7 separate regions of the Homo sapiens genome follow, and regions 2, 3, 4, 5, 6 and 7 are each linked to region 1. Evidence: promoter capture Hi-C in 16 types of primary human blood cells and fetal thymus (Javierre and others, 2016). All regions are on one chromosome and are shown on one strand. The core of a region is centred on a gene start or on the middle of the fragment in contact, and the rest is flanking DNA. Distances in the headings are between cores, read along the strand shown. Region 1 holds the start of HES1 (hes family bHLH transcription factor 1). Region 2 overlaps OPA1 (OPA1 mitochondrial dynamin like GTPase). Region 3 overlaps OPA1 (OPA1 mitochondrial dynamin like GTPase). Region 4 overlaps OPA1 (OPA1 mitochondrial dynamin like GTPase). Region 5 overlaps OPA1 (OPA1 mitochondrial dynamin like GTPase). Region 6 has its middle 82 kb from the start of LINC02038. Region 7 has its middle 59 kb from the start of LINC02038.

Region 1 (3,582 bases), core at 468-2,967:
GAAGGGGCGGGCGGCGCGAAGCCGCTTTAACCGCAGTCGCCGAGCGGAGGCAGGAGGCTGACCCGGCCGCTTCCTAAGTGCGGTCAGGCATCCCGTGACCGCGGCGGGCGCCCAGGGCCCCGCGGGGAGAGGGCGGGGGCGAGGAGCAAACTTGGAGGCCCCCACCTCGCCCCCGGGCTGTTGCGAATGCGGCTTTCGGCCGAGTGAAAACCCCAAGCCCGAAAGTGAGGGTGGGGAGGCGGGGGTTGGAAGAATTCCCCACTCTCCACCCCGGGTGTGCGCTCCCCGCCGGGAAGAGCTGACCTTGGCCTGGGGAGGCGGGGGTGGGGAGAGAGGGTAAGCGCCGGGGCTCGGCTCCCAGCCCGCCGCCCCCTCGGATTCCTGGCCCGGCGGGGCCGGAGGAGGGGGCCCCGGACACACACACACACACACCCCCCACACGCAGCGCGCGCCAATGAGCCCGGGCCAGGCGCAGGGGGCGGGGTTTTCCCAGGCTCGAGCACAGCAGCTGCTATTTACCTTCTTGGCTTCTCCCGGGGACCAGGAACCGGCCCCCGCTCTCCGCCGCCCGTCGCCGCCCCCCGCCTCCCTGCCCCCGGGGCGCGCGCACACACACTCACTCACACACGCACGCACACACACATCCTCCCGGCCCGGCCGCAGCCGCGGCGGCAATAAAACATCCTGGCACGTGCTCCGGCTCCAGGCGCGCCCACGCCGGCCGGCTGATGTCAAACTGCAGCTCGGCTGGTGTAGCTCTTAAAGGGCCCGCGGGCGCCGGGGGCCGAGGCCGCCCGCGGGGCGAGGAGGGAGAGGCTGCTTCCTTGCCCGCCACCTCAACGCGCCGCAGAACCTAAAGCCTACGGATGAAAAGGGAAAGGGTGGTGAAGGAGGGCGCGAGTCCCTGAGTCATTGCCCTCGGAGCCCCCCTTGTTCATTTTTTCATTTGAAATACCGTTTCCTTCCACCCAGTTGGAAATTATTCTGATTGTTTCCTGGGGAAGCCCGGGGTCTAAGGCCCCAAATCCAAACGAGGAATTTCTGAAAGACGGGGTGGGGGTGGGATTCAAGAACTACCTTGCTCCGAAAAACCTGCATTTGTGAGGTAGAAGGCAATTTTTCCTTTTTCTGCATGGAAACAGGAAAATTTTTTTGGCCCTTTTCCTTTACCATCTACTTTCACCCTCCTGAATGTAAAGTCTGAGCGGGAACTTTAGATGTGTCGGTAACTCACATTCTTACACCCGTCCCCCCCTCCCCCCGCCCCCTTTTAACCACTGCTGTTTTTTTCTTTATTGTTTATACCTTTAAAAAAAATATGTTTCAAATGAACTTACTACAGTCAAAGCAGCTCTGTTACATATGAGAGAGGGCATAAAGAGCAAAGACCCTGGCTCCAAAAGAAATAGACAAGATCAAGACCAAAGCGGAAAGAAAAAAAAAATCTCTAAACCAAAGCCCAGAGGGAGAGTAGCAAAGGGTTAAAATCCTTTTGATTGACGTTGTAGCCTCCGGTGCCCTGGGCTCAGGCGCGCGCCATTGGCCGCCAGACCTTGTGCCTGGCGGCCAATGGGGGGGCGCGGTCCACGAGCGGTGCCGCGTGTCTCCTCCTCCCATTGGCTGAAAGTTACTGTGGGAAAGAAAGTTTGGGAAGTTTCACACGAGCCGTTCGCGTGCAGTCCCAGATATATATAGAGGCCGCCAGGGCCTAGGGATCACACAGGATCCGGAGCTGGTGCTGATAACAGCGGAATCCCCCGTCTACCTCTCTCCTTGGTCCTGGAACAGCGCTACTGATCACCAAGTAGCCACAAAATATAATAAACCCTCAGCACTTGCTCAGTAGTTTTGTGAAAGTCTCAAGTAAAAGAGACACAAACAAAAAATTCTTTTTCGTGAAGAACTCCAAAAATAAAATTCTCTAGAGATAAAAAAAAAAAAAAAAGGAAAATGCCAGCTGATATAATGGAGAAAAATTCCTCGTCCCCGGTGGCTGCTACCCCAGCCAGTGTCAACACGACACCGGATAAACCAAAGACAGCATCTGAGCACAGAAAGGTAAGGGCGGTACCTGTATCTCTTTGCAGCCCCTCAAAATTAAGTAGGGGTTGGGGGGCTTCTTTCTGTCTTGAAACCCCGGGATGGCAGATTCCATGGGAACACAGAACTCTTTTTTTTATTTGCAGTCATCAAAGCCTATTATGGAGAAAAGACGAAGAGCAAGAATAAATGAAAGTCTGAGCCAGCTGAAAACACTGATTTTGGATGCTCTGAAGAAAGATGTAAGTGGGGAAATGCTGCTCGCTCTTTTAATTAAAAAACAAACACTTTCTCAGCTACTAAGAGTGAAACCCCCCGCCCTGCGGGGTCTGGCACTCGCTGGTACTGCGTTCTCCCAGGCGGGAGGGCCCGGCCTTATTCGCTGGGGTCCAGAGATAATGCTTGCGCTCCGTGGCCGGGAGGAGGGACCCCCAGCACTCTGAAGCAGCTGACACGGGGCTCACTTTCCTTTCTTGCCTACTCTATGCAGAGCTCGCGGCATTCCAAGCTGGAGAAGGCGGACATTCTGGAAATGACAGTGAAGCACCTCCGGAACCTGCAGCGGGCGCAGATGACGGGTGAGGGCGGCTCGCCGCGTCCCCCTGTGCGGGCGTCCCGCTCGCCTCGCGGTGATTTCTTCCAGACTTCCGCCCGTGGTTGTGAGAGGCATTCAGCTACATTTTACTGCCTTGGCTCACTCTTGCGTTCCCACGGTCTGGGGCTTATTTATAGCCACAACTCCAAGTTGTTACTGTTCCGGAAAGGGAGGGAAAGAGGTTGCAGCCGCGAGGGTGGCGGGCGCCGGGTAGGGGCGAAAGGACTTAGGACTGTGGCGGTTTGGAACTGCGTGGAGCCTGGGGGTCACTGGTTTAGCACTCCTTCCCGTTGCAGAAGGGGAAATGAGGCTTGGATGATGGATTGGGAGGCATTGTCCAAGGTCACATCGCGCGCGGGGGTGGGGGTGACAGATCTGGGGCTGAGATAGGTTTAAATGCAGCTACAGGGAATCGGGAAGGAGTGGCTCGGCTTTTGGCAGCAACGCTAGTGTGGAGAGGTGGCTGGTTTTTTCTAAACCCATCTCACCCTCCCTGCCGGAGGCAGTTTCACGGGCGCATGGTCAGGGAGGCGCGCCACAGGGACCTCCCAGGGCGGAGGCAGTGGCCACGGGGCCAGGGCCGTTCGGTGACCCGTCTGTCTCTTTCTGGCCCGCAGCTGCGCTGAGCACAGACCCAAGTGTGCTGGGGAAGTACCGAGCCGGCTTCAGCGAGTGCATGAACGAGGTGACCCGCTTCCTGTCCACGTGCGAGGGCGTTAATACCGAGGTGCGCACTCGGCTGCTCGGCCACCTGGCCAACTGCATGACCCAGATCAATGCCATGACCTACCCCGGGCAGCCGCACCCCGCCTTGCAGGCGCCGCCACCGCCCCCACCGGGACCCGGCGGCCCCCAGCACGCGCCGTTCGCGCCGCCGCCGCCACTCGTGCCCATCCCCGGGGGCGCGGCGCCCCCTCCCGGCGGCGCCCCCTGCAAGCTGGGCAGCC
Region 2 (2,517 bases), core at 18-2,517, 500 kb before region 1:
CTGACAGCCCTCTATTCAAAACCCTGCTCCTCTACTAAGTGACCTTGGTCAGGCTCTCAGATATTCCTCGCTCTTTATTCCTAGTCTGTGTAATTCCTGCTTTATGGGGTTTTTGTGAAGGCTAAGGGAGTTAATGCGTTTGCACCACTTACTAAGGAGTCTGTCACATAATGCATGCTTGGGTACTGCTAGCTATTATTTTATAGCATCTTAATTAAAATCTAAAATAATGTGAAGAAAGGGAAGAATTTGAATTTTTGTTAAGTGGCCCTGTAATGTGAAGACTTAAAATTTTGATATAATAGGAAATACTCCCTTCTAGAATGTATTTAAGAACTACTTCTTTAAATTCTTACGTTTTCACTATTTCAAAATAATTTTTTCAATGTGAGTAGCAAGGAATTTTCCAAGTGAAATTCTTAATTATGATAGAAAATTACAATGATTTCCACTGTTTGTAAGAGATAATAGTCATTGTTTATTTTATTCCTAATGTTTTCGTAGATGCTTTTAAAATGTAATACATTTTAAATAGGAGATATGACTTCAAGATTTTGGAAGATTTTAATTTAGACTTAATACTATTTGATAACCCATCTTTTGCTTATATAGTTACACTTATTATTTTATTGCAGTTGAAGTATCAGAGAATCTTGGAACGATTAGAAAAGGAGAACAAAGAATTGAGAAAATTAGTATTGCAGAAAGATGACAAAGGCATTCATCATAGAAAGCTTAAGGTATTCTAAGTTTGTCTTGTTTATTCTCAAAATTTTACCGCTTAACGTTGTGTGTTCATCAGTACCAGTTTCTAAGGAGCTGTAAAGTATTCTGTCATCCTTTTCTTTCTAACCTAATGTGCTTGGAGGATGGAGGATCTCTTCCTATATTAAGACATTTTATAAGTTGTAGTCTCCAAATACTTGTTTTATACTATGCCCATAAAATCTTTACACTTTTAAGAGTTATTTCGTGTGAATCAGTTTATTTTTCTGAAATATCTAGTTTATCTCTAGGCTTAACTTTTACATAAAATTTTATATAAAATCAGAATTGTTAATTGATGGACATGTAAGTGACTTATCATCATTGCTTTACTTGTATGCCAGTGAATGATTAGACCACTTTCTTCAGTTTTTAAAAAATTAACACTTTTCTTCTAAGGAGAGCTTTCTTAGGCATTTCAAAGAACTTTCGAAAAAGTGTGTGCTGGTATTGTTACTATCAGCACATTGGTGAACTTATTTACCAATAAATCAAGTCTTACTATTCCCCACCCAACTAAACCACATGTGCTAAATTGAATTGAAACAATTATTTAACTTAAATCTCATATAAGTAAGCAGAGTTTATATGTAGCAAAACTGCAGTAAATCATGGCATGTACATTCTGTAGTCAAGGTCCAAAGATAATACAGTTCTAGCTTAACAAACATGCATTAGTAGCTTTGACTATAAATCATGACTGCATAAAACAGATAACATGACTATTTACAAGTGGCACTTAGAACTGAGAAAAGTCATTTCCAAGTGCTAATATATGTAGAGTTTACCTCAGAAACAGTATTTTCTCTCATAAAATGCAGTGGCAATTAACATTTTTTGTTTATTTTTAGGCTGGTGGGTTGGCAATTGCTTGCCATTTAATTTTTTCTAGGGATTAAGAAATGAAAGGACCCTTAAGCCATCATTTTGCTCCTGCCTTAGCATTAAAACTTATCCATAATTATTAAATGCTTGATGGTACCCCTTTTTTTCAGGCCTGTGTATTTTTTTGTTCATTCATTCATCAAATTTACATGAAGCTTGTTACACGCAATGCAAGGCACCACATTCATTTCTGATTCTACAGCAAGAAACGATACAGGATATTTGCCCTTGCTACACTCATATTTCAGCCTGCCCAGTTGTCAGTGGATACTTAACCACCCTTACTGGTTTAACAGTCTTCCTGGTTTATCCTTTATTCAGATGCTTGCTTGCACGTGCTCTCTGTCCTCTCTCTTTCTCTCTCATGCATGCCTCAAACTTAGCAAAGAATAATTTCATTGTCAGTTGGTTACCTGACCACCTTTTTTTTGCCTTTTTGGTGTTAATGGTCTTTTCTTGCATTCAGTATTAGCTCATCAGTATTAAGTAATAATTTCCATCTTATTTAATTAGAATGTTAGGAAATCCTGAATTAATTTACTTTATTAAATCATTGTATCTAAATAAACTGAATGAGAAATGGACTTTTAATCTGTACCGTTTTAGTTTTTACGATGAAGATGTATTTATGTAATTTGAGAAAACAGTACAATGATTATGGAAAAACAATTTGAATTTATCACTTTTTTCTCTTGACACATCTGTTATATTTTTTTCTTTACTTTTACTGTTTTATATTATAACTTTTTAAAATTTTTACAGAAATCTTTGATTGACATGTATTCTGAAGTTCTTGATGTTCTCTCTGATTATGATGCCAGTTATAATACGCAAGATCATCTGCCACGGGTATGTGAAAAATTGATA
Region 3 (3,582 bases), core at 779-3,278, 480 kb before region 1:
GAAAGGCGACACAGGTAGCTGTGTCCTGTGGCTTTAACATAAATGGGGGCAAGAGGCAGGAGATAAAACAGTAGATGTAAGCAAAATATTGGGTTTATTAACCATATTCAGAAGCTTAGTGTGTATTCCATAAGCAGTAGGGGGAGGGTGGTCACTGAAGAGGATTAGGTCAGGTTTGCATTTTAGAAAGGTCTTTGTAGTAGGCAAAATGGAATACAGGCGGAGAAAACTGTAAGCAAGGAGGCAGTTGGCTTTTGCAATAATTTAGGCAAGATGTGATCATGGCTTAAACTTGGATAGTGAGTGGTAGTACAGGTAGAGAAGAGACACTTGTGAGATACTTGAGAGGTTACCTAAAAGATAGAATTGACAGGATTTAGTGATTGTGTAGATAATGAAGAGTCTATTAAATAATGAGTATGTTTATATTCAGTAATTACATTGCTAGGAATATATGCAAATGATATATTTGACAAAGATGAACACACAAGACCTTTCACCTTGATTTTTTAAATAAATGTGAAGAAATGGAAAGCAATTTATGTGTCCCATTTGGAATTATATAGTATTTGGTTTATATAGAGCAGATTACTGCTCTATGGATAGAAGTAGCCTTTGAAAAGTATAGGATGTTGACATGGAAAACTAAATACAATATACTTTTAGATTTAAAAAAGGGATTTATAAAACAGTATGTATAATTATGAACCACTTGTGTAAATACACACAAATAGTTACGTAGACATAATTTTTTTAATAATAAAACCATAAATAGTGGTTATCTTATAAAAGAGGAACTATGGGGTACTTCTTACATTTTCTGTATTGGTTGAAATTATTATATGGAGTATAATAGTCCTCTACTTTAAAATAAAAAAAAATCCATTTTAAAAAGAATTTAATTAAAGTGGAATGTAGGTAAAGTTTCTGTAGATAAAGAAGGCAATAAAACTATTACCTTTATTATATTTTGCTAATTATATTTTGTGTATTAGTAGAAGTTATCCCTGGTTGATGGCAAAACCTGGAATAGAGAAGTCACCTATAATAACACAGAATATAGTCCAGGCACGGTGGCTCATGCCTGTAATCCCAGCACTTTGGGAGGCCCCTATGGTCGGATCACTTAAGCTCAGGAATTCAAGACCAACCTGGGCAACATGGTGAAAACCCTGTCTCTAATAAATATACAAAAATTAGCCAGGCATGGTGGTGCACGCTTGTAATCCCATCTACTTGGGTGGCTGAAGTGGGAGAATCGCTTGAACCCAGGAAGCGGAGGTTGCTGTGAGCCGAGACTGTGCCACTGCACTTCAGCCTGGGTGACAGAGTGAGACCCTGTCTGAAAACAAACAAACAAAAAAAAAAAACCATAGAATATAGGCTGGGAAAATTGTTAGATGATAGCAGCAAGCAATAAGGTAGCAGATGACATAACTAGATGAAGTGGCTTCACAGTGTAATGGTTTTTATATGAACATTGAGAACTGATGGTTCAGAAGAGAGACTGGGGTGAGGAGGACTTAACTTCTACTTTCTAACTCTGAAGGCCATTTAACTGCTGAATAGCTTCATCTCAGCAGAATTTGAGGACAGAGGACAATCACTTTCCTTAAGGAAAGGTTTGGAGGTAAGAATAGGGAAAGAGAATGAGAGTGTAAAATGGTTTGTCATGGAACCGGGTATTACAGGAGCACAACAGAAATTGTTGGGATGGAGGGGAGCAGTGGGAGTCTGAGACAGAGGACAGCAGCTTGGCGATGAAAGGCAGGAGAGGCTGGGCAAGGAGAAGTGATAACAGCTGCATCTGTGGATGTCAAAGCAGCAACCTCCCTTGAGAAAGTTGCCTTTAGCTTCTCGGGATTTGGTAATCAGGATTTTAAAAAGGGTGTCAGGGATATGGATTCCTGGCCCACAGACTCCAGGGAAAAATAACAGACTATGTCTCTTCTGAAGCAGGATGAGAAAAAAGCCCTGGAGGTCAGAGGCTGGATCCTGGTCTTCAGTTCAACTTTCAGTAATCTTCTTGAGATTGTGTATAAAGTGGTATCTGAAGAGGAGGCCCTGACAGGCTGCTTTTCTTCATCTTGCTCCTTAAATTCTCCCACTCTCTGTCATTAACTCAGTGACTAAATTGTCTTTGTCCTTTTGGGCCCCAGTCATATATCCTCCTCAGACTCTGATTTCTTTACTGGTTGTAACTGGAAAGTGACCTGAAAGTTAGCAGTGGGAAACCAGGATCTGTGTTGATTGATTCAGTAGACTTAATTTTACACAAAATGTTTAGTAAATAGTCTTGGAGGGTAGGAGATGTTGACTCTCCTCACCAGAGAAGTTCAGCTGGGCTTTTGGACAGCAGGATATTTCTGCTACCCTGAGATTTGTGGCTATATCCTAAAGGGTTGAGATTATTCTTAAGAAGGATCCCCTGATAAGCAGAGTTTTTTTTTTATATTGTAGTATTCTAAGTTTATTACCCAAATAAATATTTCCTTGAGATTTCAAATTGAAATAGTTGTATTTTTTTATTAGTGACCCATGTTCTTTTAAGATGTCTTTCAAGGCAGAATTTTCAACATGATTATGCATCTTTTACATTGTTACCTTAATCATGAATTATTGAAAAATTTTATCTACAGCATTCTATAACATCTCTGTGCTGTGATCTGATAAGTTGTCATATTTATACCAAGAAATTTTCAGTCTCAGACTCTCCCGTAAGCACATGAAGTATATGTTAATACTAGGCAGATAAGTGTGCATGAAAAGATGCTCAGAATTATTAGTCATTAGAGAAATACAACGTAAAACCACAATGACCACTATAAACTTACTAAAATGGCTACAATTTTAAATGACAGACTATACCAAGTGTTGGCAAGGATGTAGAGGATCTAGAACTCTCATTCTCTGCTAGTGGAAATGTAAACTGAGGCAAACATTTCAAAAAAAAATTAAACATGTAATTACCATATGATCCAAACATTCCACTCTTAGGTATTTACCTAAGAGGAATGAAAGCATGTGTTCATAAGAAAGACTTGTACGTGAATTCTCATAGCAGCTTTATTTGTAGTAGCCAAAAGCTGGAAACAGCCTAAGGGTCTATCAACACAAGAATGGATAAACACATTCATGCAACATAATACTACACAGAAATAAAAAGAAGTGAAATATTGCTAGATGCGGTGTCTCACACTTGTAATCCCAACACTTTGGGAGGCCAAGGCAAGAGGATTGCTTGAGCCCAGGAGTTCAAGACCAGCCTCAGCAACATAGTGAGACCCCATCTCTACAAAATTTTAAAAAATTAGCCAGGCATAATGGCGTCCACCTGTAGTCCCACCTACTCGGGAGGATAAGGTGGGAGGATGGCTTGAGCCCAGGAGGTTGAGGCTCCAGTGAGCCATGAATGTGCCACTGTACTCCATCCAGCCTGGGCAACTAAGCAAGACCCTGTCTCAAAAAAAAAAAAAGTGAAATATTAATACATACAACAGCATGATGAACCTCAAAATAATTATGCTGGAGTGGAAGAACAAAGACAAAAAAAGAGTATATGCCACATGATTGCATTTATAT
Region 4 (3,582 bases), core at 411-2,910, 460 kb before region 1:
TCAGCCAGAAAACTTTCCAAATTTAAGTTATTAATGTATTATAAGGATCAAAGTTTCTAGTATAGCCTGTTCAATTAGAACATAGTGTGTTGGTTGATTGGATTTGGAGAAAGGGAGGCAATCAAATTTTTACTACAGTTTCAGCCTGTTACAGAATATTGTATAGAGTGTTAAAATGTTGATGCATTCATATTTTTGCCAGTTTTAAGCTTGTACGATTTTAAATCATTTCCTTACCTTGGAGACTTCCCCCCCACCTTTTTTTTTTTTTTTGAGATGGAGTCTCGCTGTGTCGCCCAGGCTAGAGTGCAGTGGCACGATCTCGGCTCACTGCAAGGTGGTTCTCCCACCTCTGCCTCCCGAGTAGCTGGGGCTACAGGCGCCCGCCACCATGCCTGGCTTATTTTTTGTATTTTTAGTAGAGACGGGGTTTCCCCATGTTAGCCAGGATGGTCTCGATCTCCTGACCTCATGATCCGCCCGCCTCGGCCTCCCAAAGTGCTGGAATTATAGGCATGAGCCACCATGCCCAGCCCTGACTGCCCTTTAAGATGAGTACATAAGTAGTAGTAGTACATTTTTCTTTCACATCCTGGAGAAGATATACTGTGTTCACTATTGAAATGAAACCATAAAGCTAGAGTTAGGAAGATTGAAGAAATGAAAAAGGAGCTCACATGATTTTGTCTCAGGAGAGGCTCTTCCAGGATTCTTTGGAGATATGGTAGATTCCATAGCTGGAGCAGGGAAAGGACAGGATGAGCCTGTGGGTGTAGAAAGGAAGGGAGTGCTTGAAAGATGATGAGGAGATGTCAGCAGGTCACAGAAACCCTCTGAAGGAGGCTCCAACTGGCCAGGCTGGGGACAATTTGGGCCCCAAAATAATGACAGTAACAAATTGTAACTCATTGAATGAAATAGGAATCCATACATTGGTAATTATATAAATAAGGGAATAAAACCATGATGCAAAAAGGGATGTTTATGTCATCACGCAAAATATGTTCACAGAAAATATGTACTAATTAAAAGAGGGAAAAGAGTAACTTTACAGTGGATGAAGCCTGGCAATCATCACTTTAAGCAAGTGGTCAGAGTTAATATTATCAGTAATGGTCAAATCAAAACCATATGCAAGAAGACTCTAAAATGCAAGAAGACTCCTGAAGTACTTCTTACCAAAGATGTAGAACTTAAATTCAGTCATAACAATACATGAGACAAACCCAAGTTAGAGCACAGTCTGCAAAATAACTGGCCTGTAATCTTCAAATGCATCAAGATCATGAAAGACAAGGAAAGAGTGAAGAGCTGCTCCAGTTGGAAGAGACTTAAAACTAAATGCAATGTATGATCCTAGATTGGATCTTTTTGCTCTAAGGACATTAATGGGCCAGTTAGTGATATTTGAAGGGGATCCGAGGGTTCCATTGTAGTAATATATCAGTGTTAATTTTTAAATTTTTATTAGGTTGGGATTATTTTGGAAAATACCATTATTCATAGCGAATACAAAGTAGAATATTTGGGGATGATAATGCATGATTACAACAAATGTTTCAGGAGAAATATGATCTTTGTAGTGGTCTTGCAACTTTTCTGTAAGTCTGAAATTGTTTATGCATAAAAGGTTAAAAAAAGGTTAAATTTTGTTTTTATAACTAATAATGGATTAGGGTCATGTGAAAGTACTTTAGAGGAAATGAGACTTTTGAGAACATCATCCCTGAAGACGTTGAAACACTGAGTTACCTCATGGATAATTTAATAGGATATGCAGCTGATTTTTCTACCTTAATTTCTTGTTTGCAGTATCTACCCATACTTAGAATTGTCTGGTGTTAAAATATGCCCACTGGGACTTTCATGAAATTCTTTTGATTTTCTAGAAAATTCAGTTTCAAAGGATTTTTTAAATAGATATTTTAAGTTTGGTGTCAACTTAGATAAAATCTGTTTGGAGTCCCAGTGTAAGTTTTAGTAATGTGTCCAATCTGTTTATTGAAATAGTATAACTTTAGAATACTTTCTTTGGAGAGATGAAGATTGGTATGTTATAGTTCAATTCAAAGTTGTTCTTTCTATTATGATCTATTTTATAATTCATAAAATCTATCTTATGATTGTCATCATAAGTGCAATTTGTTTTTTGCCCCATTCTACCTCAGAAACTAAGTATCTGGGCATCAATAACAATTGGTAGTAGTGTTTGCTGCTAAGCCAAGTTTCACCAGTACAGTGTGGAATTATTTTATTGTTTTTTCTGTGAACATTGTATCTGCTGTTACTAGGTTATTGTGAGGTATTGGGCCTTCATAGAAATTGCCTGGAACCCTTGTTCACTAAAGCCTGTTACACTTTTTATTCTCTGTGCGTGTAATCAGAGACTTATTGATACTGACACATTCAAGGGGCATTATTGATCATTTAGATTGCTCTAAGACCTAAGGAGTCTTGGCCGGATGCGGTGCCTCACGCCTGTAATCCCAGCACTATGGGAGGCCGAGGCGGGTGGATCACCTGAGGTCAGGAGTTCGAGATCAGCCTGGCCAACATGGTGAAACCCCGTCTCTACTAAAAATGCGAAAATTAGCTGGGCATGGTGGCAGGCGCCTGTAATTCCAGCTACTCGGGAGGCTGAGACAGGAGAATCGCCTGAACCCGGGAGGCAGAGGTTGCAGTGAGCCAAGACTGTGCCATTGCATTCCAGCCTGGGTAACAGAGCGAGACTCCATCTCAAAAAAAAAAAAAAAACGAAAAACAAAAACCTAAGGAGTCTTTTCTCCTTATTTTACAATAAATTCCTTTTGATTTTGTGTAAAAACTTGAAACTGTTTATGAATGTAAAATAACATTTGAATACTTTTCTTGTGCCAGATATTAGGTTAAATGCTTTATGTGAATTTTCATTTGATTCTCACAACTTTTGAGTTAGGTAGTTATTTTTCTCATTTTACAGATGAAATGGAGGGTTAGGAACTCGTAGGTAGTAGATGCTGAAGCTGAGATTTGGGCCTGGGTCTTTTCACTACTGTGCCAGAATCATTTGGGAGGGAGTAAAAACTCAAGCCTTTGGAAAATATGATGACATAAAATTGTCCTTTATATTGAGAAGCTTCCATAGTTACCAGTGTCCTTCACAGGGTTGATCGGAAAGACATACATGTTAGTGATGATGATAATGATGAAGATAATCATTATTACCACAGGTACTTCCTATAATATAAGCATCTTTCAAATTGTATGAGAACTTTCATAGAACATCTGAGTAAATGAACAGTACAGTGTGCATGAAACCACTAAGCAAACCAAGGGAAGTTAATTTTCTTTATATGAATTGTAAACATGTCTCTAGATATCCTTTATCAGATTCCACCATGCGTAAGTAGTGTCTAAGTTGCCCCATATTTAGAGTTTTTCAATGAGGTTGTGTTCCTACTTAGAATCCTAAAGTTCAGCTATAACAGATATATTAATAAAATCTGTGGAATCTTTAATTGAGCATAATGGTGGCTGTTATTTTAACTTGAGGCTTTTTGTTGAGCTGGATTGGAAGTGCAACTTATTAGAAATTACAGTGTA
Region 5 (3,582 bases), core at 404-2,903, 450 kb before region 1:
GTGTAACTGTTTTGTTCCCTGATTTTTACTGAAATGGGTCTTTTCTTTTTTTTTTTTTTTTTTTTTTTTTTTTTTTTTTTTTTTTTTTTTTTGAGACAGAGTCTCGCTATGTCACCAGGCTGGAGTGCAGTGGCATGATCTCAGCTCACTGCAACCTCCGCCTCCCGATTCTCCCTGAAATGCGTCTTATTTTAAGTCAAAGGTAATACTTAAAAAAGACCAAAGAGACTTAAAATAACAGCATTTGCTTCGTCACTATGAGCTTTGTTATTATGAGTTAACATACAGTAGCAGACTGGGTGTAGTAGCTCACGCCCTGTAATTCCAGCAGTTTGTGAAGCCGAGTGGGGAGGATTGCTTGAGGCCAAGACTTCGAGACCAGCCTGGGCAACATAGTGAGACCCCCATCTTGACAAAAAAAATTGTTTTAAATTAGCCAGGTGTGGTGCTGCATGCCTGTGGTCCCAGCTACTTGGAAGGCTAAGGTAGGAGAATCGCTTGAGCCTGGGAGGTCGAGGCTGTAGTGAGCCGTGTTTGCATCACTGCACTCCTGGGTGACAGTGCAAGACTCTGCGTCAGACAAACAAACATCGTAGCAGATGTGTTTCTTAATCAGAGAAGTGTAGACAAGGCTAACTCCAGGCTTTAATGTCCTCATATTTAGCAATGATACCTGCAAGGTTGTATGAGAACCAAATGAAACGCCAAATTTGGAAATACATAGTAGATACATCATAGCAGAGTAAGCCAGGAATGCTTCTCAAAGGTAGGATATCATCTGTGTCCTCATATCACTTTATGAAGTACATTGTGAAAGTGAAAGAACAAAGAAATAAATGTTTTTTAGTTAATGTTTAAAGGATACATTTATCATAATTGCTCTTTTAACACTCACCTCCAGTCTCCCCTCCGTTCACACCTCCTACCCCCATTACTTCCTGGTAACTTAGTTAAGTGTCCTTTGTCATTCCTGAGGTTTCAAGGCATGGTAGTACTGTGTCCTGATATTCTAATCGTAAATATTTAAGGGAAATTCGGCATTTTTTCATTTTGTGGTTTTCATATTAAAGTACATTAAATAGTCTTTTTGCTTTTATTTAGGAAAAAAACTGCTTACCTGTTAATTTTAGAAAAATCTGATTTTCATTTAGACCTTACAGGGTGAGACACCTGCATCAGGGTGGCTCTTGGTATCTTTCAATTCAATTGGATCTTCTCTGAATAGTCTCTTGTAGGGAGTGAGGCTGCTGTACCACCTCCCTGCAGTAGTCCATCCAGCTTAAGATGGGGGTCACCAGTAGGCCAAAAGAATGGGTAGACCTGGCCATGCACTGCCCTATTGTACTCAAATCGTGTATCAAATGGAGTTGGATTTCTTCTCTTCATACAGTACAGCATTTCCAAGTAGAAATATTTCTCAATGAAATGTGGAGAGAAGCACCCGTTTGAGATTCCCGTGTGTTGTGTGATTTAAGTTAGATGGTTTTTTAAGACCACATTCATTTCCAGCATTCTAGGTAACAATTTAGAAAATGTCTTTCTCCTAACCTCCCCACTTTTTAAAAATCCTCCAACTGATGAACTGATGTGAAACTTTCTTACATTCACTGAAAAAAAAAAAAAATAGGTTAAGCTGTTTCTAAGCAACTAGATGAATTAATTTTTAAACTAAGAATGTGGCCTTATTTTGGGAAAACAAGAATATTTACTTGTTTGTCTGCTGTTTAAAAAATGGAAGTCAGCCTACCAAAAAATTGAGACTCAACTTCTAGGAGATGGGTTAGGATTTTTTTTTTTAAGTTTCTCTAGTTTAATTTTATATATAAGGGGTTAATGCTACCTTCATAATAACTATTATCATATTTTCTCAATACATAGCTTGATTAAAACAACTGGACTCCCCCCCCACCCCACCCCACACACACACAGATTTTATATCAGTCTGAATCTAATGCCTAGAATAAGAAGTGCTTCAGCCAGGCATAGTGGCACTCACCTGTAGTCTCAGCTACTCAGGAGGCTGAGGCAGCAGGATCAATTGAGCCCAGGAGTCTGAGTCTAGCCTGGGCAACATAGTGAGACCTAGAAGTTTTAAATTACTGGAAAAATAATATGAAAAGAATAAATTACTGGAAAAAGAATATGAAAATGTTACGTTCTTTATATCCAACCGTGGTAGGCTTTTTTGAGTTCCTGCAATGCTAATAAGAATTCATAAAAAGGACAATTCTTCATTTTCTTGGGTACTCATCACTAATAGCTGCCTCGCTGGTAAAAAGGAATACATGTATCTTCAATTGCAGATTATTTACTTTTAAATATAAAAGATATAAATGTCAAATATTAAATGCATCTTACATGGTTTTCCTACATAGTGAAAGTAGAATGCTTGCCAGTTTTGCCTCTAGGTCACTCACTTTGAACCAGCCAACCCACCTTAATTGATCATTTCCACTAATATGTTAAATTACCTTAAAAGAACAAAAATATTTATCATGCTTACTATAACCTGTGTTTTAAAATAGGAGGCCAGGCACAGTGGCTCACACCTGTAATCCCAGGACTTTGGGAGGCCAAGGCAGGAGGATCACTTGAGCCCAGGTGTTCAGGACCAGCCTGGGCAACAAAGTGAGATCCTATCTCCACAAAAAAATTAAAAATAAAAACTTAGCCAGGCGTGGTGGCACGTGCCTGTGGTCTTAGCTACGTGGGAGGCCAAGGCGGGAGGATCACCTGAGCTCAGGAGGTTGAGGCTGCAGTAAGCCCTGCCAACACCACTGCACGCCAACCTGGGCGACAGAGTAGGACCCCCATCTCAGAATATAAAATAAAGTAGGAGGTGCATGTGAAGTAGTATAGATCATGACTTTTCCAATTTTAAGAGGGGATTGGCATGTACTATGAGCAGTTCACATTTGTGGAGGAAATCTACATTTCAGAGAGTATATATTTCATTTGGAAGTCTATAAACATGAAAACCTAAAATAAATAATGTAAATCTACCTCTAGTGGCTCTGGTATTTTTAAACTTATTTATAGCTGGCAAAGTACTTTTTTGTATGTATTTTTATAGCACCATTGCACTTCTCATGTTTGTTGCAAGCATCTCCCACAGCTTCCTTTGTCTTTTAATTTTATGACATATAAATAAAAGTATACATTTCAATATGGCCATATTGATTGATCTTTTCCTTTGTAACTCTTACTACTTTATATTTAAAAAGTCATTTCCCAGTCTAAGGCCACCTCTATTTTCTTTTAGTTTTTTAAAATGGTTTCATTGTTTTATATTTGCCTATGATCCAGACATTAGTAACTGTGGGTTCTTAATTGGGCTTCAGAGAATCTGAGAATTCCTTAAAATTCTCTACATAATTGTACATGTACTTAATACATGCTTTTTTCCATGTTAAGAGTCCAGAGTTTTTGTTAGATCCTCAAAGGGGTCAGTCAGTCTCTCCTCCCACTTCCAAAAAATGTCTGAGACCTACTACTATAATCCATCTGGACTTTATTTGGGTAAAAGGTGGTATGGTGAGACTCATATTTTTCTTTTTCCCGCAAATAGTTAAGTATACCAAC
Region 6 (3,582 bases), core at 806-3,305, 370 kb before region 1:
GAATAGATAAAGGATAGAATCTCTGCCATTCCATTGTACTTACATGTTGTTCTAAACCAGGAGCACGGTTGGAGGAAACGTATACTGCTACTGTATAGATTTGTAGAATCTGTTTCTCTGTATGTTCTCAGAAACAGAAAAGATCCCTATTTCTGAAGAAATACACATACGAACGCCTACATGTGCATCGGAAATAAACAGTCTGAAAAGTCGGTTGATGTGGACATCCTGGAGAAATCTACAAAGCTGCTGCCATCCCAAAGGCCATTTCCTACCACAGGGCAGATGAGCATCAGCTTCCCCAGAAGACCCCTCCAGTGGGGTTTAGGCTATCAGGATTCCAGAAGACCCCTCCAGTGGGGTTTAGGCTATCAGGATTCCAGAAGACCCCTCCAGTGGGGTTTAGGCTATCATCAGGGTTCCACGTCTAGCTTCTCCTCTGATCTGCTGCGAGGCTACCCAGCTCTCTCTCCTGATGGAGATTAATTTACAAGTTAAAAAAATAAAGACGGAAACAAACTATTCACAACTATTGTTTGTATCCTAGGATGAGAGTTGAGGTTGAAGACAAAAATATAAAGTTTAAAAACAATGTTTAGGGGGATAAACTGTAACCAGTTCAAATACTCTATCAAGGATAGTTCTGTATAAAGTTCTTTCAAATCGTATAAATTATTTAAGAATGATTCTTACAAACATAAGCAGATTCAGCTATGGCAAATGGAACCCTGATGAAACTGGTCATTAATTGTGACCATCACAAAATTGTCAGCCATTCCTGTTCGAATATATGTGACTTTTTATATAAGAAGACCTGGCGCAGGCCGGGCGCGGTGGCTCACACCTGTAATCCCAGCACTCTGGGAGGCCGAGGCAGGCGGATCACGAGGTCAGGAGATCGAGACCATCCTGGCTAACACGGTGAAACCCCATCTCTACTAAAAATACAAAAAATTAGCTGGGCGTGATGGCGGGCGCCTGTAGTCCCAGCTACTCGGGAGGCTGAGGCAGGAGAATGGCGTGAACCCGGGAGGCGGAGCTTGCAGTGAGTGAGCCGAGATCCCGCCACTGCACTCCAGCCTGGGCGAGAGCGAAACTCCGTCTCAAATAAATAAATAAATAAATAAATAAATAAATAAATAAATACCTGGCGCAGAGGTATTGAATATGCATAACTGAAAATATACAGTGTATACTATCATAAATACAGAAGAACATGTGGGTCTTCACTGTCTGTTCTTACAGAGGAATCCAGTAGCTGTCTCACATCTTCATGAGATGTCTGCTAATGTGGGGTTGGAGGCAATGAAGAATGCTGGGTACAATTGACATAAGGGAGTTTTCAGAAGGCAAGGGAAAATATTCTGGGTATAATTAAGGAACCTGGAAATTAACAACTTGATGTCATTAAAAGTTGAGGGGAAAGTGGAATAAGCCCTTTTGTTCATATATGACTATAAAAATATGTTTTTGCATGATTTTGAAATGTCAGTCCTAGTTAGAGTTGGGCTTTTCAAAGTGTACTAACTCTCAGAACATATAATGTGATGGAGTTGTTGTAGGATATTCTCAGGGTCTTCTCCGGTCAAGCATTCTCAGAGTTGGGCAGAGGGAACACCTGGCCTTGGCTGCAAAGTGGCCTTCCTAGGACTCTGCCTGCTCCCGGATGAAGCACTGCTGACCTGCAAGCTCACTGGGCTGCCGACAAGCTGCTGCGGAATCACAAGAAATTGGGAGATCCCTTCAGGAGTGAGGAAAATGGGATGCTTCCTCAGCCCAGGGAGGATGTGGAGCAGGAACCCAGAGGGAGGGGAGGCCCTCAGAGTCTAGGCAGCCTGCACTGGAATAACTGGATCCTATGCCCCCCTCCCTCTCTCTGAGGACATTATTCCAGTCATTTCCTTATCTTGCATCCTCAATTTCCCCTTCTCTATTACATCATTGTCAACAGCCTAAATAGAAACCATAAACAATATCCCAAGTGTCCCTTCGATTGTCCTCTTATTTCTCATTTTCCCTGTACTGCCAAACACGTTGAGAGGTTTGATTTGCCTTTTTTTTTTTTTTTTTTTCAGAGACGGAGTCTCCCTCTGTTGCCCAGGCTGGACTGCAGTGGCCCAATCTCGGCTCACTGCAACCTCTGCCTCCCGGGTTCAAGCCATTCTCCTGCCTCAGCCTCCCGAGTAGCTGGGACTACAGGTACACACCACCATACCCGGCTAATTTTTATTGTATTTTAGTAGAGAGGGGGTTTCACCATGTTGCCCAGGCTGATCTCAAACACCTGAGCTCAAGCATTCCGCCTGCCTTGGCCTCCCAAAGTGCTAGAATTACAGGCATGAGCCACCACATCCGGCTGAGAGATTTGCCTTCTCATGCCATCACCAAATTTCACTTCTCCAACTCTCTCTGGGTCCTGCTGTGAGAATTTCCCCCAATCCCCCACCTCTCTGCCCAAACTGCTTTCATCAAGGCCATTGAGGGGCTCCATCCCATGGTCAGTGCTCACCTCTCATTTGTCTTGACTATCAGTGGCACCTCACCTAACAAATCACTTCCTCTTCTTGAAGTTCTTTTCACTTTGCTTCCCAGGCACCACACTCTCCTGATTTCCTCCTAGTGGGCAGTTCACACTTCTTGGTCTCTTGTGAGCCTTCCTCCTCATCACTCCAGCTGCTCCAGTCCTCTGTGCTCACCTCTCTTCTCTCTCTGTACTGGTCCCTGGGAGATCTCATTATTCTTTTTTTTTTTTTTTTAATTTTCACTGCCCCAGTCAAGGGAGACCATTATTCTTATTAGAATATGCCCCTAGGTTTATATCTTCATTTTTCTTTGGCTGCTATAACAAATTACTGGCTTAGTGGATTTAGTAGCTTAAAACAACACAGATTTAGTCTCTCATAATTCTGGAGATCAGAAGTCTTACGGGGCTAAAAATCAATGTGCCAGCAGAGCTGGTTTCTTCTGAAGGCTCCTGGGGAGAACCCATTCGTTGCCTCTTCTAACTTCTAGAGGCTGCCAGCATTCGTTGGCCTGTGGCTATTATTACTCTAACCCCTGCTTCCATCATCACACCATCTTTTCCTCTTTTATTCCTCTTGTGTCCTTCTAAGAGCCATGGTGATCACATCTGGATCATTCAGGCTAATCTCAAAGTCCTTAACTTAATCAAACCCTTTTCCCAAATTAACACTCATGGGTTCTGGGGGTTAGGGTGGGAACATATTTGGGGGATCATTATTGGGCCTACCATACCAGCTCGGACTTCTTTCTGTCTTCAGACTTGGATACCCAGTTGTCTACTCTGCTACTGTACTGGAATATTTAATAGGTGTCTTAAAACCAACATGATAAATGAGCTGTTTCTCTTGAAGTCTTCTTCATCTCAGTTCATGACAACTCCTTCCTTCTAGTTGTCCAGCCCAAAAACTTTGCAGTCTCCCTTAATTCCTCCATTTTTCTTACATATCACGTTCAATGTCAGCAGCAAATTCAATTGTCAGCTCGTCTCAACTCAATGTTGGTGCTTGTCTAGATTATCTCAGGCCCCTCTAAGTGGTCTCCCAGCTTTCTGCACTGCCC
Region 7 (3,582 bases), core at 746-3,245, 350 kb before region 1:
TGCAGGGTGCCTAGTAAGTGCTAGACATCTTGCATGCATTAAGTCGTAAACCAGAAAACTCCAGAGAGACCTTTGCTGTGGATATTACTGTCCCATGTTGCGGATGAGGAAAGGGGCTCTGGGAAGTCTGCAGGTTGCCCAGGACACAGGTCCACCCAGCTCTCATCTAGCCTGTCTTCTGGTTTCCCTTCAGATGGCTGGAAACACGGCTCCTGGCTCCTCGAGCCCTCTGGTCTCCCGGCTTCAGACCTCCCTTACAGCACATACTTTCCCAGCCCATCATGACCAGCTTCTGGGGTTCCCTCTGTTTGGTCTGCAACCCTCTTCAGTGAGATCCCAGACAGGGACATAAGCATTCTTGTTGCTTTGCTGGGAAAGCACGATATGCCAGCCAGCAACCGATGTACATCATCATTTGCTTGAAGAAATAACATGAGCTTGTGACTCCTGGCCACACTCTGGGTAGCAGGAGGAGCACAGTCTGAGGTCAAAGGATGTCACAACTCTCAGCCAGGCTGGCTGAGACAGGTTCTAAAACAACCCTTTCCAACCTACTGCTCTCCTACTCCCAGGACCTGGAGCCACTGACCCTGCCATGGAACAGGTTGCATGATGTTTTACATCAAATTGTATTGATTCTTTGGTGAATAGGTAATACGTTCTCATGGTTTAAAGTTTAAAATGGTACCAACGATATAAAGTAGAAATCCTCCCTCCTACTCCTTCCTCCCATCACCCATCTTCCACTTCTAGGAACAATGTTTCCAGCTTCTGGTGCATTCCTTCAGATGTAGTCATCATGGATACAATGCAAATAAGTAGGTATATGTGTATCCCTATTCCTTTTTCCTTTTTAAATACAAAATCAGTGTATTATACTGTTTACCACTGCCCTCACCTTTAAAAAGTTTTTTAGATTTTTTGTAGAGATTGGATCTTGAGATGTTGCCCAGGCTATCTTGAATTCCTGGCCTTAAGCGATCTTTCACCTCGGCTTCCCGAAGTGCTGGGATTATAGTTGTGAGCCACTTGAACTCCCTCCTTTTATTCACTTAGCACGTATACCTGCAAGTTTGTGACTTGAAGGGGTTTAAATTTACCCTCTTCTGCACCAGTGGTCCGAATGTGAACCCTACACTGTGAACCCAAGACAAAACACAATGCAGGCTGGGCATGGTGGCTCACACCTGTAATACCAGCACTTTGGGAGGCTGAGACACACAGAGAGCTTGAACCCGGGGGTTCAAGACAAGCCTGGGCAATACAGTGAGACCTTATCTCTACAAAGAAACAAAAAAACAAAAAAACAGACCTAGTACTGTGTGCTTGCAGTCCCAGCTACTCAGGAGATTGAGATGGGAGGACAACTTTGGCCCAGGAGGTAGAGGTTGCAGCAAGCTGTGATCACACCACTGCATTCCTGGACTGTAGAATGAGACTCTGTCAAAAAAAAAAAAAAAAAAAAGAGATGAACCTCTCATTTAATGCTTGTTAAACAGATAATCTCCACATAGATATAAAGAGATGACTGCAGATGCATTCTTTTTTGCATCTCCCATGTACATTTTCCAAGAGATTTTGCACTGCTCTTTGGGGGGTGTGACCCCTACTTTATAAGGACAGTAATCATCCAGGGACTGACATGATTTATCCAAACTAAGCTGCTGCCCTATTTGAGCTACTCTGATTTTGTGCTTTGGAGGCATTAGAGTTGAGCATCTGAGAACAGAGAGACTTGGCTGAGTTTTCTAAATAATAACTTCAATATACTCAGATGCGCTAGGAAGAAGTCACGCTGTCAATATGATACGGTCAAAGGACTCAGGTTTCTCCTTCCACCTTGAACTGAAGATGACACATGCACCAAATCATTTTTTTCTAAGCTTTCTTTTAGCTTCCATGGCTGCAAAGCAGTGATAATTCAACTTGCCATTAGGGTTTTAAGTACTCCCAGGTATTAAATACCTAGCATTAAACAGTACAAAAATATATTTTTAAAAATACCAACTAGGAAAGTGCTAAAATGACACTCTGTCTTTGCCTAAGTATACTATGAGAAATGGAAAAGCTGGCCTCTGGGGGGCCATCTGCTGAGCCCAGGAGTCTAGGAAGCTTCGATGATATATGTGCAATCACTGAATTATGCTGGAGAAAAGATCTAAAACAGACATGGTTTCAGAGCATTCATGATAAATGGTTCTTCACAAATTGAAGCTGATTATTTCTCTCCCTCACATTCCCAAAGAGGTGGTCTCTGCTTTTAAGCAGAGTTCATTCCTGGAAACTCCATCTTAAAGGGAAATCCTAGTCTGATTGTATAGTTAAGGGTCTCTCTCTTCAAACATGTTCAGTCTCATGAGAGAACTGAATGGATGAAAGTGACAGGAAGGAAGAATAGGCACATTTAGACCCCGTCAAACAAGCGTGGCAAAAACTGAAGCCTGCTTGAAATGATGCTCTGTAAAGAGAATGCAGTTTCGTATAACGAACAATTGGTGCAGTTATTGAATAATGTAGATGGCCGTTGAAGTGAAAAAGTGCAGATGGAGACACAGTAAGACCTGACGCATGCCTGGGAGATTTAGAAAATGGTTCCCCAGGCCGGGCGCGGTGGCTCACGCCTGTAATCCCAGCACTTTGGGAGGACGAGGTGGGTGGATCACGAGGTCAGGCGATCGAGACCATCCTGGCCAACATGGTGAAACCCCATCTCTACTAAAAATACAAAAATTAGCTGGGTGTGGTGGCGCATGCCTGTAATCCCAGCTACTCGGGAGGCTGAGGCAGGAGAATCACTTGAACCCAGGAGTCGGAGGTTGCAGTGAGCTGAGATTGCACCACTGCACTCCAGCCCGGAGACAGAGCGAGACTCCGTCTAAAAAAAAAGAAAAGAAAAAGAAAATGGTTCCCCAAATGGAGCCCACTGTGTTGCCCCCAGCTTTCTCTTCCCTTCACCTGGGCCCTTCTTCTACCCTGAATATCTTGGCCCAGGGTAAGGGACAACTGTCGTAGAGAGCCTTTCTGTGCCTCAGTTTTCTTCATAGGAAAGTGACCATGCAGCAGTCCAAGGACATTCGCCAAATGCTGCAGAGCCTGGGAACTAACCGCCTCCCTTCCAAGCCTGATGGAAGAAATGGCCTCCCTTCTAAGCCTGGTGGACCTGGGACATCTGAGACCAGAAAACCAGAGGCCAGCTGATTAAATATTAATAGTTAGCTGTTATGGGAAGGTCTCTTGAAAGAGTTCAAGACCAGCCTGGGAAACATATGGAGACGCCATATCTACAAATAGTAAAATAAGTTAGCTGGGCATGTGCCTGTCATCCCAGCTACTCAGGAGGCTAAGATGGGAGGATCACTTGAGCTCAGGAAGTTGAGGCTGCAGTAGCTATGATTGTGCCACTGCATTCCAGCCTTGGTAAGAGAACAAGACTTCATTTCAAAAAAAAAAAAAAAATCCTGTAATCCCAGCACTTTGGGAGCCTGAGGCGGGCAGATCATGAGGTCAAGAAATCGAGACCACCCTGGCCAACATGGTGAAACCCTGTCTCTACTAAAAATACAAAAATTAGCTGGGCATGGT

The links. Contacts are between HindIII fragments. The CHiCAGO score rates a contact against its expected background, and 5 or more counts as called.
Region 2: a contact is called between a fragment that was not itself captured here and the fragment with the promoter of HES1 in region 1, in 2 of 17 cell types (total B cells and naive B cells). The highest score is 5.8, in total B cells.
Region 3: a fragment that was not itself captured here is called in contact with the fragment with the promoter of HES1 in region 1 in 5 of 17 cell types (naive B cells, total B cells, activated CD4 T cells and 2 more); the score reaches 10.0 in naive B cells.
Region 4: a fragment that was not itself captured here is called in contact with the fragment with the promoter of HES1 in region 1 in 3 of 17 cell types (naive B cells, total B cells and naive CD4 T cells); the score reaches 12.4 in naive B cells.
Region 5: a fragment that was not itself captured here is called in contact with the fragment with the promoter of HES1 in region 1 in 9 of 17 cell types (total B cells, naive B cells, megakaryocytes and 6 more); the score reaches 17.1 in total B cells.
Region 6: a contact is called between a fragment that was not itself captured here and the fragment with the promoter of HES1 in region 1, in 4 of 17 cell types (erythroblasts, megakaryocytes, total B cells and 1 more). The highest score is 8.8, in erythroblasts.
Region 7: a contact is called between a fragment that was not itself captured here and the fragment with the promoter of HES1 in region 1, in 15 of 17 cell types (M0 macrophages, megakaryocytes, erythroblasts and 12 more). The highest score is 36.2, in M0 macrophages.

The regions. Positions count from the first base shown.
Region 1 is chr3:194,134,431-194,138,012 of GRCh38, forward strand. HES1 (hes family bHLH transcription factor 1) reads left to right here and starts at 1,718. Exons shown (of 4, transcript NM_005524.4): 1 at 1,718-2,058; 2 at 2,187-2,282; 3 at 2,531-2,618; 4 at 3,253-3,582. The coding sequence starts at 1,951. RefSeq lists silencers at 1-75, 146-685, 3,412-3,582 and enhancers at 1,676-2,875, 1,685-1,844. The HindIII fragment of the contact is 7,369 bases long and covers 1-3,582 here.
Region 2 is chr3:193,634,783-193,637,299 of GRCh38, forward strand. OPA1 (OPA1 mitochondrial dynamin like GTPase) reads left to right here. Exons shown (of 31, transcript NM_130837.3): 9 at 636-740; 10 at 2,413-2,499. Among named protein-coding and RNA genes, the nearest start is that of OPA1-AS1, 8.7 kb to the left of the region's middle. The HindIII fragment of the contact is 1,071 bases long and covers 733-1,803 here.
Region 3 is chr3:193,651,037-193,654,618 of GRCh38, forward strand. The region is part of intron 21 of OPA1 (OPA1 mitochondrial dynamin like GTPase); the gene reads left to right. The region is part of intron 4 of LOC102724808 (a long non-coding RNA gene); the gene reads right to left. Among named protein-coding and RNA genes, the nearest start is that of OPA1-AS1, 25 kb to the left of the region's middle. The HindIII fragment of the contact is 3,832 bases long and covers 113-3,582 here.
Region 4 is chr3:193,670,131-193,673,712 of GRCh38, forward strand. The region is part of intron 29 of OPA1 (OPA1 mitochondrial dynamin like GTPase); the gene reads left to right. LOC102724808 (a long non-coding RNA gene) reads right to left here. Exons shown (of 5, transcript XR_924835.3): 3 at 678-764. Among named protein-coding and RNA genes, the nearest start is that of OPA1-AS1, 45 kb to the left of the region's middle. The HindIII fragment of the contact is 2,906 bases long and covers 208-3,113 here.
Region 5 is chr3:193,688,405-193,691,986 of GRCh38, forward strand. The region is part of intron 29 of OPA1 (OPA1 mitochondrial dynamin like GTPase); the gene reads left to right. Among named protein-coding and RNA genes, the nearest start is that of OPA1-AS1, 63 kb to the left of the region's middle. The HindIII fragment of the contact is 6,511 bases long and covers 1-3,582 here.
Region 6 is chr3:193,760,307-193,763,888 of GRCh38, forward strand. No RefSeq gene overlaps it. Among named protein-coding and RNA genes, the nearest start is that of LINC02038, 82 kb to the right of the region's middle. The HindIII fragment of the contact is 5,071 bases long and covers 1-3,582 here.
Region 7 is chr3:193,782,931-193,786,512 of GRCh38, forward strand. No RefSeq gene overlaps it. Among named protein-coding and RNA genes, the nearest start is that of LINC02038, 59 kb to the right of the region's middle. The HindIII fragment of the contact is 229 bases long and covers 1,882-2,110 here.